6 separate regions of the Homo sapiens genome follow, and all the other regions are linked to region 1. The links are contacts of gene promoters, found by promoter capture Hi-C in blood cells and fetal thymus (Javierre and others, 2016). All regions are on one chromosome and are shown on one strand. The core of a region is centred on a gene start or on the middle of the fragment in contact, and the rest is flanking DNA. Distances in the headings are between cores, read along the strand shown. Region 1 holds the start of CR1 (complement C3b/C4b receptor 1 (Knops blood group)). Region 2 has its middle 19 kb from the start of C1orf116. Region 3 holds the start of PFKFB2 (6-phosphofructo-2-kinase/fructose-2,6-biphosphatase 2). Region 4 overlaps C4BPB (complement component 4 binding protein beta). Region 5 overlaps C4BPA (complement component 4 binding protein alpha). Region 6 overlaps LOC107985251 (a long non-coding RNA gene).

Region 1 (2,548 bases), core at 17-2,516:
TTCTTATTTCAGTAAGTAGCACCACCATTCATTTCTAATCCTGGGGCTAACTCTTTTTTTTTTTTCTTTTCTGAATCATGTCTCCTTTTAATGGTTAAGGAAAACAAGTTTAACATAAAATTAGCAACAACAACAACAACAACAACAAAATCAAGGTTTAAAGTCAAAATTATTTTAAGAGAAAAACCCAGGCAAAATAGCCTACCTACAGGCAGGCAGTACATGTCAGAAGGACAGGCCACCCCCAATAAAAAAGATAAAATATTATTTTTTCTACCTTTTTTAAACTTAATTATTTAATTATTTCTTTCTTTTTTCTTTTTTTTGTTTCTTTTTTTTATTATACTTTAAGTTTTAGGGTACATGTGCACAACGTGCAGGTTTGTTACATATGCATACATGTGCGACGTTGGTGTGCTGCACCCATTAACTCGTCCTTTACATTAGGTATATCTCCTAATGCTATCCCTCCCCCCTCCCCCCACCCCACAACAGGCCCCGGTGTGTGATGTTCCTCTTCCTGTGTCCATGTGTTCTCATTGTGGAAGCTGGAAACCATCATTCTCAGCAAACTACCGCAAGGGGGCTAACTCTTGATTGCTTTCTTCTCACCACCAACCTTAAGAAAGGAAGTAACCAAAATCCAATACATGAGCAACTGTTCATTCCATCTCCAATATCTTTGTTAATTGTCCACTTTATCCACCCAGTCAGGGCCGCCATCAAACCTCACTTGGATGTCGGCAAAAGCTCCCCTGACTGGTCTTCGCAGTCCATTATTGCCCTATTCTAATCTACCTTCCATACTATACACAGATTTACATTTTTTAAATGTGTATCTAATTGTCCCTCCCTTTTAAAAAATCTTACAATGGCATGACGTCTCAATTCAGGGTAAGGAAATTGTTTCTTCACATTCCCTGTACACCGTACACATCGCCTGCAATTGCCCTTCAACACGGAGAGCAGGCATTTCATTAGCTGACCTTCCCACACACATTCTTGCAAAGAGGAAAAGTTAAGCAGGGTGTTTGGAGGCGAGCTGCCATCATCCACCGCCTTTGTCTGGAAGCGCAGGGCCTCACACGCGGGATCCATCGGAAGCCCGAGCATTGTCAAGCTCTGCTGCTGCACCTGGGTCAGCAAGGTGGGCTCTGCCAGCGAAACTCGTTAGAAACAATGCAAATGGGGAGTAAACATGACCTCGCCCATGAAGGGGAAGCTGTGGTCAAAAGCATTTTGTCCCGGAACCCCGCAGCCCTCCCCACACTCTGGGCGCGGAGCACAATGATTGGTCACTCCTATTTTCGCTGAGCTTTTCCTCTTATTTCAGTTTTCTTCGAGATCAAATCTGGTTTGTAGATGTGCTTGGGGAGAATGGGGGCCTCTTCTCCAAGAAGCCCGGAGCCTGTCGGGCCGCCGGCGCCCGGTCTCCCCTTCTGCTGCGGAGGATCCCTGCTGGCGGTTGTGGTGCTGCTTGCGCTGCCGGTGGCCTGGGGTGAGAGGCGGGCGGGCGTGGGGAGGCGCCCGGGCGGACGAGGAACCCGGGGCCCCGCAGAGAACTCGCGTGCAGCGCTGAGCTGCGCTGCTCTGCGCGCCCGGGTCCGAAGGCAGCGCGATGGGTGGGCTGAGCGCGCGACCCGGCAGGGCGGCGGGTGTAGGATCCTTCTGCGCACTGGAGACCCTCGCTGCTTCTGGGTAAGCGTGGAGTTCCCAGGTGCAGGGGCTTAAGTCGTGACGAGCGCAGTGGAAGGCGCAGATGCTGAGCGGGTGCCGCACGAAATTCCTTGCCTTTGTGTATTCACAGCCTCGGCTGGCTATAGCCAAGACGTGGCGTTGATCCTAGTGAAAGGGAACTTGGGGATCCGACAAACCTGAGTTCTGGTCCTAGAAACTTAACTGTGAGGCAACTTAGCACACCTGAGTCTGTTTGCTCTTCTGTAAAATGGGGACACTGGTATCTCTGCATCGTGGAGTTGCTGCCTCAGTGGCATTAAGCCTGTCGAGTATCTAACACAGGGCTATGTGTCCCCGAGTCCATTTCTATCCCCCAACCGTTACCTCTGTACTTTGCTCCCAATGGTGTTTAGACAAGCAGTCCTAGGGATGCAGGTGTTACCTGACAACTGCCCCGCATGGAACTGTCCTCGCCCCCCACACCAAGCCACCACGGCCATCATCACCATGCACTTAATTGACAGCATACTTTAAGACAGATGCATGCCAGGCACTTGCGGATTAGAAGAGCAAGGGAAGCCCCAGAACATGCAATGTAACCGTTGCAGGTAGAAGGGACAGTAGATATGTTTACAGTTCGCATTTTAGTGATGTGTTTAGTACAAAATAACGCCTATTATAATTATTATGGAAATTTTGAGGCCACATCTCTTCCTTTTTCTTAACTTCAAATAGGTAAACATCTTCAGTTAGAACCCTTCTATTATTATTTTTCGGCTCCCCAGAAGTCTTCTTGGTTGCCTAGACTCACTGGCAACATCTCATTTGAAGTGACAGTCTTGGTTGTTTTTGTCCAGCCTATTCCTGACAA
Region 2 (2,548 bases), core at 36-2,535, 480 kb before region 1:
CTACGTAAAGACGAGGAGAAAAGAACTCCAGGAGAAGGAACAGCCAAGGTAGAGTCCCAGAGCTGGGACAAGCTTGATGCATTTAAAGGAGAACATGAAGACAGATCTGAGAAGGGGGCACAGGAGAGAGCCCTGAGGCCCAAGAGGATGAGAAGGCAAAAGATCCTGAGGAGGAGTACACAGTACCCAGGAGTCAGTGTTTCAAAATGAAGGGAGTCGTCAATTGTGTCAAATGTGCAGAGAAATAAAGTAAATGCGAGTAAAGCAGACTACTGGATCTGCCAACATGGATGTCATTGGTAACTCTGACAACATGGTCTTGGGGGCATGGAGGGGAAAGATGCTTGGTTGAAGCGGGAGGAGGAGTGAGGTTCAGGTGAGAAAGGAGAGGTTGTGTTTATTTCAAGGGACATTTCCAGAGGGGAGCAGAGAGATGGCTAGGGTGCTAGAGCAGTGCTGTCCAACACCAGAGCCACTTGCCTAATTAAAAAATGTAAGTTTATGTTAATTAAAATTAAATAAAATTAGACATTTAGTTCTTTGTCACACTAGCCAAATATCAAGTGCTTGAGGGCCACATGTGAGGAGCAGCTACTCAATTGGGCAGAGCAGATAGAGCATAGTTTTATCATTGCTGAAATTTCTGATGGACAACTCTGCTCTAGAAGATGTGGGGTTAAGGAAGGTTTTAATTTTGTTGTTGTTGTTGTTAATTTTTTAATTTGAGAGATACTAGACAGAACAGTGATCAAGTAGAAATTGGGGGTGCAGTTTTCTCATTGGACTTCTCTTTATTTACCTCCCTTTAGATGTCAGTGTGCCCCAGAGATCCATCCATGAGCTCTGTTCTTCTTATTCTACCCATCCTCCCTAGACAGCCTTATCCATGCTCATGATCGACTGTCACCTACATTTAGTGGCTCTGTTATCGCTTCTCCCCCATGAACTGCAGACCCGCAGTCTACCTGCCAGGGGCCATGTCAACTTAGAAGTCCCACAGCAACCTCAAACTCCGTATGCCCCAAACCAAACCTCCCTTCTTCCTGGTCCTACCCCTATAGCACATTCATGAATTCTGTCTACTTGTTCAGACCAGCAATGTGGGCATCATTTTGAGCTCCTCTTTCTCCTTTAGTCTTTACATCCAGTCAGTCACTAAGCTGCTGGTTGGTTTGTGGGCACATTTAGAATTGTGCACCACCTCCATCTTCACTGATTTATTTAAATTCTCACTTGGACTGTTGGGAGCATTGTGGATTAGCTAGCAGAAGACTCACATCCACCCCCTTCTCCCAGGCTGGCCTCTATTAGAGAGGACAAGACAGGCTTTCTTACAGCCAGAGATGGCTTGTGACGTAATTCTGGTCAATGAGACAGAAAAGAAAGTCTGTTCAGAAGTTTCTGGGAAAGACTTTGCTTTCTTATTTAAAAAGACAGATATGGATGCTCCCAGTATTTTTTCCCTTCTTAATCCTTTGAATGCCAGCAATATGACTGGAGCCACCATCTCGCAATTGCAGAAGGAAGGCAAAGAGAATTCCTGTGCCTCTGCCCTGAACAATGCCCATAGCCACCTACCCTCATATTTCCCAGTATGGGAGAAAAAGATAAATCCCCTTTTATTTAAGCCACAGAGGGTTCTGTTACTTGCAGCCAAAAGCATCTTTGACTGATAAAGGCTTCTAGCTCGTTTCTTTGTTGTAGTATCATTGCAGTATGTTCCATTATCCACAGCCTTGGCCAGAGCCTTTACAAAATGCAATTTTGACCTTGCTACTTCCCTGCTTTAAATCTCCCATTGACTCTCCACTGCTCACAGGATAGAGATCAGACTGTTTTGCATGGCACATAGGCCCTCCACAGTCTCCTGTTGCCTGCTCCTCTGGCCTCATCCCTGGGCACTGTACATCACAGACAGTTCTCCAGATACACCACACTTCTTTGTGCTTTCTTGGCACATGCTGTTTCCTCTGTCTGGAACACCTCTTCTTTCCAGGTCTTTCCCCTCCTCTCTTAGATCCCTACCCTCTATGGTTCTATATCTTTATATCTTGAATATAATCATACCTTATTGTCTCTCTTGCTAGACTATGAGCTCCTTCATTTTCTGGGTATGTCTTATTTATCTTTGTTTTCCTAATATTGGATAGAGGGTTTGAACTCAGGAAACTGAGAAACGAATGAGTGTGCTGAACCAGGGGCCGTGATTCTGTCTCTAGTTTTACTTATTGTAACCCCATGAGCTCTCTGAAACTCATGTTCCTCATGTGTAAAACATGGGTAATTCTATCTTTGTTGTTTGCGGTGTCAGTGAAATTGTTTTTATATGGCAGATTTGTAATAGCAAAACAGCACTGGCCTTGCTGAGAGGTCAACCCAAGTTCAAATCCATGACTCCAATAATTACTAACTTATGAACTTGGGCAAGTTGAGTAAACTGTCTGTGTCTTGGTTCCCTAATTGACAGAGAGTTAGATAGAAATGTGTGGGGCTGTTATGAAGCTTACTTGAGATACTGAACATGAGAATTCTTGGTTCTAAGAGGGAC
Region 3 (2,548 bases), core at 29-2,528, 440 kb before region 1:
ATCTCTCTGGTTCCGACTTCCAGCCGCCTTCCCGAGCCAGTTAGGCGATTGCGACCCTGCCCCGCCCCCTGGGTCCTGCAGGCGCCCGATTGGTGGATGATTCTCTCCAGGTGAGGACCTACGCGCGAGGGGGCGGGGCCAGACGGGCTCACATGATTTGCCGGCGACTGTAGCGCCGGTCCCGGCCACAAGCTGTCGGCTCGGTTCGGTCGCGTTACAGGGCAGGCGCCGGGGCCAAGGCAGGGAGGGATCTTAGGAGAGATCGTAGGGTGAGCCACAGCTGCGCAGCCCCGGGTAGGGTCTAGCGGGGCGGGATGTGGGGGCTGCGTGCCCCCGGATGAAGTGCGGGGAGAGGTGCTGGTCCCCAGGCATGGCAGGCAGCGCGGACGTTCTGGGACCGGGAGCCACAGTCTGTGTTTGGGTTGGAGGATTTGTGTGGTCAGTAAAGGAATCGTGTAAGGCTCTTGAAGGCGCAGGATCTTCCGTCCTCACCAGCCCCCTGTTGTCTGAATTGGGGGCATGAGCTCAGGACTTTCCCACTCCAGTTTGAATCAGGGCTTACCCCTCTTCCTGAGGTGACCTTGGGGAAGTCATTTACCACCTCAGCGCTCCGGCGTTCTTTAGACTGAGTCCCGGGGGTAACTAGGGAGAGGGTGCGGAGCAGGGCTTGAGAATGCACTAGAGGAGAAATGACGACGTGCTAGGGCTGTCTTGGGGTCCAGTTACTGTTTTTCCTTCAGGGAATATGTTCGAGATTTTCCCACGTCCCTCACTTTTTTCTTTTCTTTCTTTCTTTTTCATTTTTCATTTTTTTTTTTTTTTTTTTTGACAGAGTCTCGCTCTGTCGCTAGGCTGGAGTGCAGTGGCGGGATCTTGGCTCACTGCAACCTCCGCCTCCCGGGTTCAAGCGATTCTCCTGCCTCAGCCTCCCGAGTAGCTGGGACTACAGGCGCGCACCACCAGGCCCGGCTAATTTTTGTATTTTTAGTAGAGACGAGGTTTCACCATGTTGGCCAGGATGGTCTCTATCTCTTGACCTCTTGATCCGCCCGCCTCAGCCTCCCCAAGTGTTGGAATTCCAGGAGTGAGCCACCGTGCCCGGCCTCACTGTTTGCAAAACTGAGTCCTACCGTTAGATTGGAGTTAATTTCCTGGTAATGTACTTCGTCTATACATAACCCACCCCACCCCAACTGCTGCCACTACTCTGCCCAGATTCTTAAAACTAGAATCTGAGGTCATGAAACCTTGAGCAGGACACTTAATTCGATGAATCTCAAATTTTCAATCTGTAAAATGAGAAGAAATAATGGTGGCAAAATCTGCCTAATTACAAGATTATTGTTAGGACTGAAGAAGATAACGTCTGTAAATGTAGACTCGTAAGTCAGAAGATAAATGTAAGGTTCTAGTGCAACTCTTTTTATAGGTGAGGAAACAGAGGGCTAGAGAAGTAGCTGCTAACTGGGAGAAACAGGACTGAACCTGCCTCTTGGCCCAGGGTGTTTTTACTTATACCACACGGATCCAATGCACTGACTTTTTTTAAGTTATGTCTTCTTTCTTCCCCTTCCCTTTTTTACATTCTACTTCTCTGTTTCAGACATCTGAAGAGCTGCCATGTCTGGGGCATCTTCCTCAGAACAGAACAACAACAGCTATGAAACCAAAACCCCAAATCTTCGAATGTCAGAGAAGAAATGTTGTGAGTTCTGGCAGAGAGGAGGGACTGCTCTCTCTCAGCATTTTATCTTGGGAATATAGTTATAATCCTGGACTCTGCTGCTTGGTGGGAGTGATAAATAATTATTTGACATGGAAATTTAATGCAAAGTCTCCAGGGTAGAATGTCCTGTCTAAAACAAGTAGACTTAGTGAAATGTCTGTTCTTGGGGCTTGACTACTGGTGTAGTCCAGCAGTTTCTTACTGCTTTCTTAAACTGAATCTCTGTCTCCTGGGATGTTTGCACACTGGCTTGCTGATGGAAGTTAGAACTAACATTATTGTACACACAATGAGTAAGGCACAGTTGCAGGTGCAGGAATTACTTGGAGCTGGTAATGTTACCAGCTTTATCTGTTGGGCTAAGTTTTGGGAGAGTGCTGCTCATTGTAGAAATTGCAGATGGGAGCCAGTGCTGCTTGGTTTCCTTCCTACAGGCCTGAGGGGAATGAGCCCTGACACTTGGCTTCTCACAGTGTCTTGGGCATCTTACTTTCTCACAGGTTTAGCCTTTGTACTTTGTAAACTATTTTCCCTATAGGTTCATTTTTTTGAGGACAGCTTTCACATGAGCATTTTCATTTCTATGCCTGTCTTTTAGATAGAAACAGCAGGAGGGTTTGCGAGGAGATGAAGCATCATTTCCTGTCCCCAAGCATCTGTATTTCTAAGCATCATAGGCTGCATAGCTTCCCAAAAGATCTGGGACTCTGTTCCCCACATATTTTGGGGAACTTCAAGGAATGCTAACTCTTGCCTCTGCTTCTGGATGGCACCATTCCTGCAGAATCCTGTCAGTCAGTTCTTCTCACTTCAGTGGTTATA
Region 4 (2,548 bases), core at 36-2,535, 400 kb before region 1:
GGGAGCCCTGAGCTTGTTTTCCTGCAACTAGAGGGTCCCATCTAGTTAGGAGTGATGGGAAACTGACAGATTATCAGGCATTAGATTCTCATCTGGGAGTGTTGGGAAACAGTGACAGATCATCAGGCATTAGATTCTCATCTGGGAGTGATGAGAGACAGTGACAGATCATCACACATTAGAATCTCATCTGGGAATGATGAGAGACAGTGACAGATCATCAGGCATTAGAATCTCATCTGGGAGTGATGGGAGACAGTGACAGATCATCAGGCATTAGATTCTCATCTGGGAGTGATGGGAGACAGTGACAGATCATCAGGCATTAGATTCTCATCTGGGAGTGATGGGAGACAGTGACAGATCATCAGGCATTAGATTCTCATCTGGGAGTGATGGGAGACAGTGACAGATCATCAGGCACTAGATTCTCATCTGGGAGTGATGGGAGACAGTGACAGGTTACCAGGCATTAGACTCTCATAAAGAGGGGTCAACCTAGATCCCTCGCATGAGCAGTTCACAATAGGTTTCACGCTCTTATGAGAATCTAATGCCACCTCTGACCTGACAGGAGGTGGAGCTCAGGCAGCAATGTGAGCAAAGCAGAGTGGCTATAAATACAGCTGAAGCTTTGCTTGCCTGCCCGCTGCTCACTTTCTGCTGTGTGGCCCAGTTCCTAATAGTCCGTGGACCGGTACCGGTCTGTGGCCCTGGGGTTGGGGATCCCTGTTATAGAGCAAAGCACATAAGCACAATGCGTGAGAATTGGAAAAGTCTCTAAAATTCTTCTAGGCTCCAAAACTAAACAAACAACACTGAACAGATCCATTTTCATTGAGATTCTTCTTTTAGTTCATATTTATTACTGGGATAATATTAATAAGTATATTTAAGCCAGAAAATATAAATGATTTGCCATGTTGAAAACCCAAATCTTTACTTAAGCTAGCCTGGTTCTGAGCCCCCATTCAGAGAGCTAACTGCTGCTCACTGGCTTCAGAGTATATAGCTGGGTCTCAGTCCTTATGTTGTAACTTGTGAAAAATTTTCTTTCTTCAGCTTGCCTTTCAGGAGAGTAAGAACCTCTGCGAAGCCATGGAGAACTTTATGCAACAATTAAAGGAAAGTGGCATGACAATGGAGGAGCTAAAATATTCTCTGGAGCTGAAGAAAGCTGAGTTGAAGGCAAAATTGTTGTAACACTACAGCTGAGCAGATGTAATAGAAATAAACCTATGAATAAATTTTCTTCTTGGTTCTGAAATTGGTTTCAGATTTACCTCTTATTGGGCTGAAATTGCCAACAGCAGTTGTATAATGCACCATGTGTGTGTGTGTGTGTGTGTGTGTGTGTGTGTGTGTGTATGTGTGTGTGTGTGTGTGTGTGTGTTGTTCTCAGAATGTGAAAAGGCCAAATGTAGTGGTTGTCTAAGGCCAGAATTAGCAACATATTATTGGAGAATAGAGGGCTTAATTTCCAGTCTGTAAGGAGAATGGAAAACTCTGATCTCAGCCGAGAGAGTAACTCGTATTTTAACATGAGACCATGAATTATGAAACCAAAACTAACCGCAACTTATGAGGCAAAAATTAACCTTCCATTTTGGAAAAGATGCTTAGAATAGTTACATCCTTAAAAATGACCCACTGGGACAGAAGGAGAGCTAGGACCCAAATTCTCCTCCCAGTCTTGCCCACATCTGGCTTACGGAAACAGGTTTCCAAAGCTGCAGGAAAATTGCTTACTGCCTCTTGAATGAAACCTGGTCCTGCATGATAAATTAGAGATGGTGCAACACAAGTGAATATATTTCTTCTCTTTTTTAGAAACAAAAATTTTATATTATTTTTTACTTACAATTCTCCTTTTTTAGAGGGTAGAAGAAATAAGAATCCTAAGGCTTTCAATCAAAATGTCATACTGAGCTGGCATGACAAGCTTCTCCCACCTCTCGTCCTGACTGCTACCTGAAACACGTAGGATATCTAGATAAAGTGCAACCAAAATATATAAGCCAGCTTGAAATAATGGAAAATCGCTAGGTAAAGTTATGAAGGGGAATAAGAGATGGACTCTTGAGTACCCCAGAGTCTACTAATAGGCACAAGACATGTACACACGTAGCATTATTTTAGAGTGGTTAGAATGAACTAAACATTTTCAGACAACAGTGGGCTATGAGAGCTCAGATGAGAGGAGGTTCACTTCTGTCTGGGAGGAGGAGGCAGGAATATTGTCAAGGAAGAAGTCACAGTTATTTGGGCCTTCAAAAGTAAGTGAGAATTAGAGACAAAGATTAAAGAGCTCATTCCAGTTGGAAAGAATATTTGAGAAATGGAGTAAGACAATAATAAGATTTAAAACCAATTTTTTTTTTTGAGATGGAGTTTCGCTCTTGTTGCCCAGGCTAGAGTGCAATGGCGTGATCTCAGCTCACCACAACCTCTGCCTCCTGGGTTCAAGCGATTCTCCTGCCTCTGCCTCCTGAGTAGCTGGGATTACAGGCATGCGCCACCATGCCCGGCTAATTTTGTATTTTTAGTA
Region 5 (2,548 bases), core at 30-2,529, 380 kb before region 1:
AAAAGATAGACGTTGAGAATTCTCATTTCCATCCTATCTCCATACACCACATTCCTTCCCGTCCTCAAGCAAAGATCTATTTTTATTGGTTCGTATATATCTTTCTAGTGTTTCCTTATATAAATACAAGCTAAGAAGTTAGCATATATTCTTATTTTCCCCCCTTTCCTCTAATGAACCTAGTATTGAATCTTGCTTTATTGTTTACTTATCAATGTATACTGGAGATATTTCCATGTTTGCGCATAGAGAGTTTCCTCATTAATTTCTTTTTACAACTGCATAGAATGTTGTTGTGTAGTTGTGTCATGGCTTTGCCGTCCTTGTGATGGATCCATGGATGTTTCTAATCTTTTGCTATTCTGAACAATGCTCTGAAGTATTCTCTTGTATGTGTGTCATTTTATACATATGTAGTTACATCTGCAGGATAGCTTCCTAGAGGAGGCCTTTCTGGCTCAAAGAGTATGTATATTTGAAAATTTGAAAGATATTGTCAGACTGCTTTCCCTAAGGGTTTCATGGTTTTGCAGAGTATGTAAATGTCTGTCTCTCCACAAACTCTCCAACTGTGTTGTCAAACTTTCGAAAACTTGTCAAATTTTTGAATTTTTCCCAATGTAAGAGGTGAAAATAAAATCTCACTATAGTTTCACTGTACATTTCTCTTATTGTCAGGGAGGTTAAGTATAGTTTTATATGTCCAGGGGATGTTTGTATTTATTTGTGCACTAGTTAGCATGTCTGATGCCTGGTTGTTGTTTTTTTTCCTTAACTTGTTGAACTTTTTATTCTTAAGTTTTAGGATGTATACATTTAGACATACACATGAGTCTGTGCATTGCAGGATTTAGGCCTTGATTCTGATATATACTGTAACTTTTCCCACAGTGTGTGTGTGTGTGTGTATATGTGTGTGTGTGTGTGTGTGTGTGTGTGTGTGTGTGTGTGTGTATAATGTTTTTGACTTGGCTATTGGTATTTTTTCCCCTTAAGGAGAAATTATTTGTATTTATGTTGTTAAATTCATCAATTTCCCTTTTAGAAATGGCTTTTGGATTTTATGTCCTAAGGCCTTCCCCAATATAAGGTTTAAAAAAAATCGCCTATATTTCCTCTACTTCTTTTATATTTTCATATTTTTTAATATTCAAAGCTTTAATTTATTTGGAGTTAATATACAGTATACAGTATGAGGTACAGATTTTAGACTATATCTTTTCATATTGCTTTCCTGTTACGCCAACACCACTTATTTAAAAGTTTGCCTTTACTGATTTAAGATGCTCTTTGATATTATATAAAATTCATATACTTATCTAGGTCTATTTCTGGACTTTCTATTCAATGCCCGTATTTTTCCTGTACATTTATGTATGCGTTTCACAGTCATTTAATAATTGAAGCTTTATAATATGTTTTAATAGCCAATATGGGTAGAGCTATCTTATTGCTCTTCTTTTTTGAAGTTTTCCTGACAGTATGTATTTATTTTTCTATAAGAACTTTAAAGTTAGACATATTTTAAAATCAGTGTTAGATTAGTTTTAAAATTAATTTTAGGTGAAGTGCAGTGGCTCACACCTGTAATCCCAGCACTTTGGAAGACCAAGGTGGGAAGATCTCTTGAGTCCAGGAGTTCGAGACCAGCCCGGGCAACACAGGGAGACCTTGTCTCTACAAGAAATTAAAAACATTAGCCGAGTGTGGTAGCACGCACTTCTAGTCCCAGCTATGCAACAGGCTGAGGTGGCAGGATCACTTGAGCCTGGGAGGTCGAGGCTGCAGTGAGCCATGATAGTGCCACTGCACTACAACCTGGGTGACAGGGCAAGACCTCATCTCGAAAAATAAACTGGTAAAATTAACTTTAGGAGAATAGATATTTTATAATGTTGACTCTCTCTAGTTAAGAATATGTTACCGTAGAGAAGGCAAAACTATTCCTCTACCCTCTTAGGGTCTCCACCAGGCCTGAGAATTAAGTTGACATGAAACAGATTAACAGGAGAAAAGCACACAGGTTTTATTTTAACAAGTACATAGGAAACTTCACAGGAAAATGAAGACCCAAAAAGTGGTCTTTGTACAAAGTTTCTTTGTACAGATTTCTCTTGGCCTTGACTCCCTGCCTCTGGTGATAAGAGTGTTCTTTTCCTTCAGGTACAGGGAAGGTATCTTTCCTGTGAGAGTTTCATGTCCTGCCTTCAGGAAGAAAAGGGGAGGTCAGAGTGCCCTTCCTGCATCTTGCTGTGTTTCAAGTGCTTTTAACTCAAAAAACAATCTTTATGCCAAACTGGTCTATTTTGGCATATTCTGCTACCCTTTGCTATGCTTTCCTCAGTTCGTCTTAGTCTTTTTTTCCTTGTTTCTTCATGTGTGTTTCAGCTTTCCTCACATAGATTTTGCATTTCTTGAAGAGTTTAAACCTCTGGCAAAACCAAACAAAAAATGTTTTTGGTATTTTAAATGGATTATTTATCCAATTTGTATTGTAACTAGTTTATCTATCATCTATCTATCATCTATCTGTCTGTCTGTCTGTCTG
Region 6 (2,548 bases), core at 26-2,525, 340 kb before region 1:
ACCAAATCTATTCCAAATGTTGAGATATCATATGCTTTATCAATTCCTTTCTTATTCTTGTGTGTCTTTCTCCCAAAGTCCTAGAAACAGACCTTGAAACAAGAATTAAAATGTAGGTAATTTGTTTAGGAGGTGCAGGAAACACCAGGAGAGAAAGGCAGTGAGATATGGAAGGAAAGTCAACCAAAAAGGATATGTTAGCAAGCTAGTTAGGATGACCACAGCCTCATCCCAAGGGACACTGATAAAGATGGTGAACTCGCACCTCAGAGTAATCATAGCTAAGGGTAGGGAGCTGGGATATTTATACATACTTCCATCAGTTGTTAATTGAGATCTGCTTCTGCAAGGTGTTATCTTCAGTTTATCCTGCTAATTGCAAATCAGAGTAGCCTTCGATGGTTGTGGAAAAAGCCTGGGTAAAAGGAAACAGATATAGGCAGTTGGAAGTTGTTTAGAGTGTGCTAAAGTGGCAGGGCGCTGGTGATACTGACAGGACATTGACAGGGGCTGCTACACACTACAACAAGCAATGGATGTTCTCATATCTGTAGACTCGCCTTCCTGCCCTGTCTTTACTTTGTTGACTCATGTTCTCTTTCTTATTTCCTCATTTTATTGGAGCACATCCTCCAGGAACTTCCTAAGAAATGATGTATAGGAAGTAAGCTATTGAGTGAACTCCTATATTCTTGAAACTGTCATTATTTTCACACTTGATTGATAGTTTGGCTGGGTGTAGTAGGGTGGGTAAAGTGTAATTTTTCCTCTCATTTTAAAGGAATTTGTCTACTGTTTTAATATATTCCATACAGCTATTGAGAAGTCAAAAGACATCCTGATTTCTGACCTGACTTTTCCTCAACGCTGGAAGCTTTTAGGATACAATCTTTACTCATGGTGTTCTAAAATATCATGTTGGTATACTTTACTGTATGATTTATTTTTATTTATTATGCTAATTCTTGATGGGCTCTTTCACACTATAAACTCATGTTCTTATTATTCTGAGAAATTTTCTTAGAAAATGTTTTCAGTAACATTTCTTCACTGTTTTCTCTTTTCATGGAAACCAAAATCATTTGATATTGGACCTCCTTGTTAATTATTGGATTTAGTTATGTTTTCTGCCCTCATTCTTACCTTCAATTCTCCAAACATTTTTTTGGAGATTTCCTTGACTTCATTTTTTTTCTGAATTTTTCAATTTCTTTTAAGAACACTTGCTAACATTTTTCAAAGAATTTTTAAAAATTGTTTTCTGTTTTTAAAAAAATAGTAATCCTGTTCTTTCCACCTAGATTCATTATTGTCTCTATGGAGCTATTTTGCAATAGAGAAGTATGATTTTGCTCCCTGCAAACCTCTGTTAATGATCATTGGTCAGCAGTTGTTCTTTAAGAGTAAGGCCTAAATAATCTCATTTAAAGTTCTGTGTATGTGAACAAATTTTGCTGGCAGCAGGCTTACTTGCAGCCTGATGGGACAGTGAGGCATTTTAAATTAACTTGTGGCTATAACAGAGAGTGTTAATTGTTTCCCTGTATTAACCTCTATTTTCACTTTAAGTAATAGAACCACTTCTACCATTTCAGCAGGGCACAGTGTTGCTCAACTAGTCCCTCCCTTGGAGCAACCTCCCAATAAATGCAACATGCTTGTCACCTTCTTAAAAAGGAAGCTTCTTGCTCTCCTCTTCCTCTTCCATACTCTTGAGGGCTGAAATGCTGATAGGGTGCCTGAGAGCCAGCTTCTGCCTTTTTGAGAAGGACAGCATCCTAGGGGATATTAAAGCAACAAGGAGAAAAGGCCCTAGTCCCTAGTTGACCATGTTGAGCAGTACTGCCTTCCATCCTGACTGGGTTTTTGCCTCCGAACTGTTTTTGAAAGAAAAATAAAGTTCTACCTGCTCTGAGCCATTGAGTTTTTGGTTGTCCTATCTCATGACAAGTATAGGACAATGAATATCCAAATACTGATGTTTATAGGTGTCTTCTTTGTTGCTGTCCAGTTGCTCCAGAGAAGGAACTTCTGTGGTTTTTTTTGCCTGTTTACAACTTGAGTTTACAACTTAAATTTCTCCTGTGCAAGATGAGGCAATTACTGCTTCTGTACTTTTTAAAATTCTGTTTCCCCCTCTATTCCTCAGTCTATTTCCATCACCACATTACTTTTGCACTATCAACATCGAGAGAACTTTCTTTCCTGAAATGATTGCTCCTATCCCTAAAAGACACAGCAGTTGCGTTTGTCTCCTTGCTTTAAGTTAAATGTTTTTCTTTACACTATGACTAACTAGTTCATATATTTCCTTCAGAAGTTCACCCACAGTGGTGCTGAATAATTACACCAGGAGTAAAAAATGTATAGGTTATTTGGAATGTGAATCTGGTGCTAAAGTTTAGTTGAGCCTGAGAAAAGTCAACTACGAAACCCCTGCTGCCAAATATTCTTCTTTGACCACAAGAAAATAAATTAAAACGAAGTGAATTCTTTCTATGTCAGGTTTAATAATTGTGGGGAGAAAGCAATTGGAAAGCTAGAGGCT

What was found. Contacts are between HindIII fragments. The CHiCAGO score rates a contact against its expected background, and 5 or more counts as called.
Region 2: a contact is called between a fragment that was not itself captured here and the fragment with the promoter of CR1 in region 1, in 5 of 17 cell types (fetal thymus, naive CD8 T cells, total B cells and 2 more). The highest score is 6.3, in fetal thymus.
Region 3: a fragment that was not itself captured here is called in contact with the fragment with the promoter of CR1 in region 1 in 6 of 17 cell types (total B cells, M0 macrophages, M2 macrophages and 3 more); the score reaches 9.4 in total B cells.
Region 4: a fragment that was not itself captured here is called in contact with the fragment with the promoter of CR1 in region 1 in 10 of 17 cell types (M1 macrophages, naive CD4 T cells, monocytes and 7 more); the score reaches 8.3 in M1 macrophages.
Region 5: a contact is called between a fragment that was not itself captured here and the fragment with the promoter of CR1 in region 1, in 4 of 17 cell types (naive B cells, naive CD4 T cells, total B cells and 1 more). The highest score is 7.6, in naive B cells.
Region 6: a fragment that was not itself captured here is called in contact with the fragment with the promoter of CR1 in region 1 in 3 of 17 cell types (M2 macrophages, total CD4 T cells and total B cells); the score reaches 7.5 in M2 macrophages.

Annotation. Positions count from the first base shown.
Region 1 is chr1:207,494,891-207,497,438 of GRCh38, forward strand. It overlaps CR1 (complement C3b/C4b receptor 1 (Knops blood group)), which reads left to right and starts at 1,267. Exons shown (of 47, transcript NM_000651.6): 1 at 1,267-1,498. The coding sequence starts at 1,378. The HindIII fragment of the contact is 13,119 bases long and covers 1-2,548 here.
Region 2 is chr1:207,012,552-207,015,099 of GRCh38, forward strand. No RefSeq gene overlaps it. Among named protein-coding and RNA genes, the nearest start is that of C1orf116, 19 kb to the right of the region's middle. The HindIII fragment of the contact is 2,430 bases long and covers 71-2,500 here.
Region 3 is chr1:207,053,098-207,055,645 of GRCh38, forward strand. PFKFB2 (6-phosphofructo-2-kinase/fructose-2,6-biphosphatase 2) reads left to right here and starts at 178. Exons shown (of 15, transcript NM_006212.2): 1 at 178-269; 2 at 1,604-1,705. The coding sequence starts at 1,621. It also overlaps a transcript of YOD1 not described here. RefSeq lists an enhancer at 1-108. The HindIII fragment of the contact is 2,737 bases long and covers 1-2,548 here.
Region 4 is chr1:207,098,727-207,101,274 of GRCh38, forward strand. It overlaps C4BPB (complement component 4 binding protein beta), which reads left to right. Exons shown (of 7, transcript NM_001017365.3): 7 at 1,063-1,267. The coding sequence ends at 1,203. Among named protein-coding and RNA genes, the nearest start is that of C4BPA, 4.2 kb to the right of the region's middle. The HindIII fragment of the contact is 1,310 bases long and covers 631-1,940 here.
Region 5 is chr1:207,115,606-207,118,153 of GRCh38, forward strand. All of the region lies in intron 4 of C4BPA (complement component 4 binding protein alpha), which reads left to right. Among named protein-coding and RNA genes, the nearest start is that of C4BPA, 13 kb to the left of the region's middle. The HindIII fragment of the contact is 250 bases long and covers 1,155-1,404 here.
Region 6 is chr1:207,154,644-207,157,191 of GRCh38, forward strand. All of the region lies in intron 1 of LOC107985251 (a long non-coding RNA gene), which reads right to left. Among named protein-coding and RNA genes, the nearest start is that of C4BPA, 52 kb to the left of the region's middle. The HindIII fragment of the contact is 807 bases long and covers 873-1,679 here.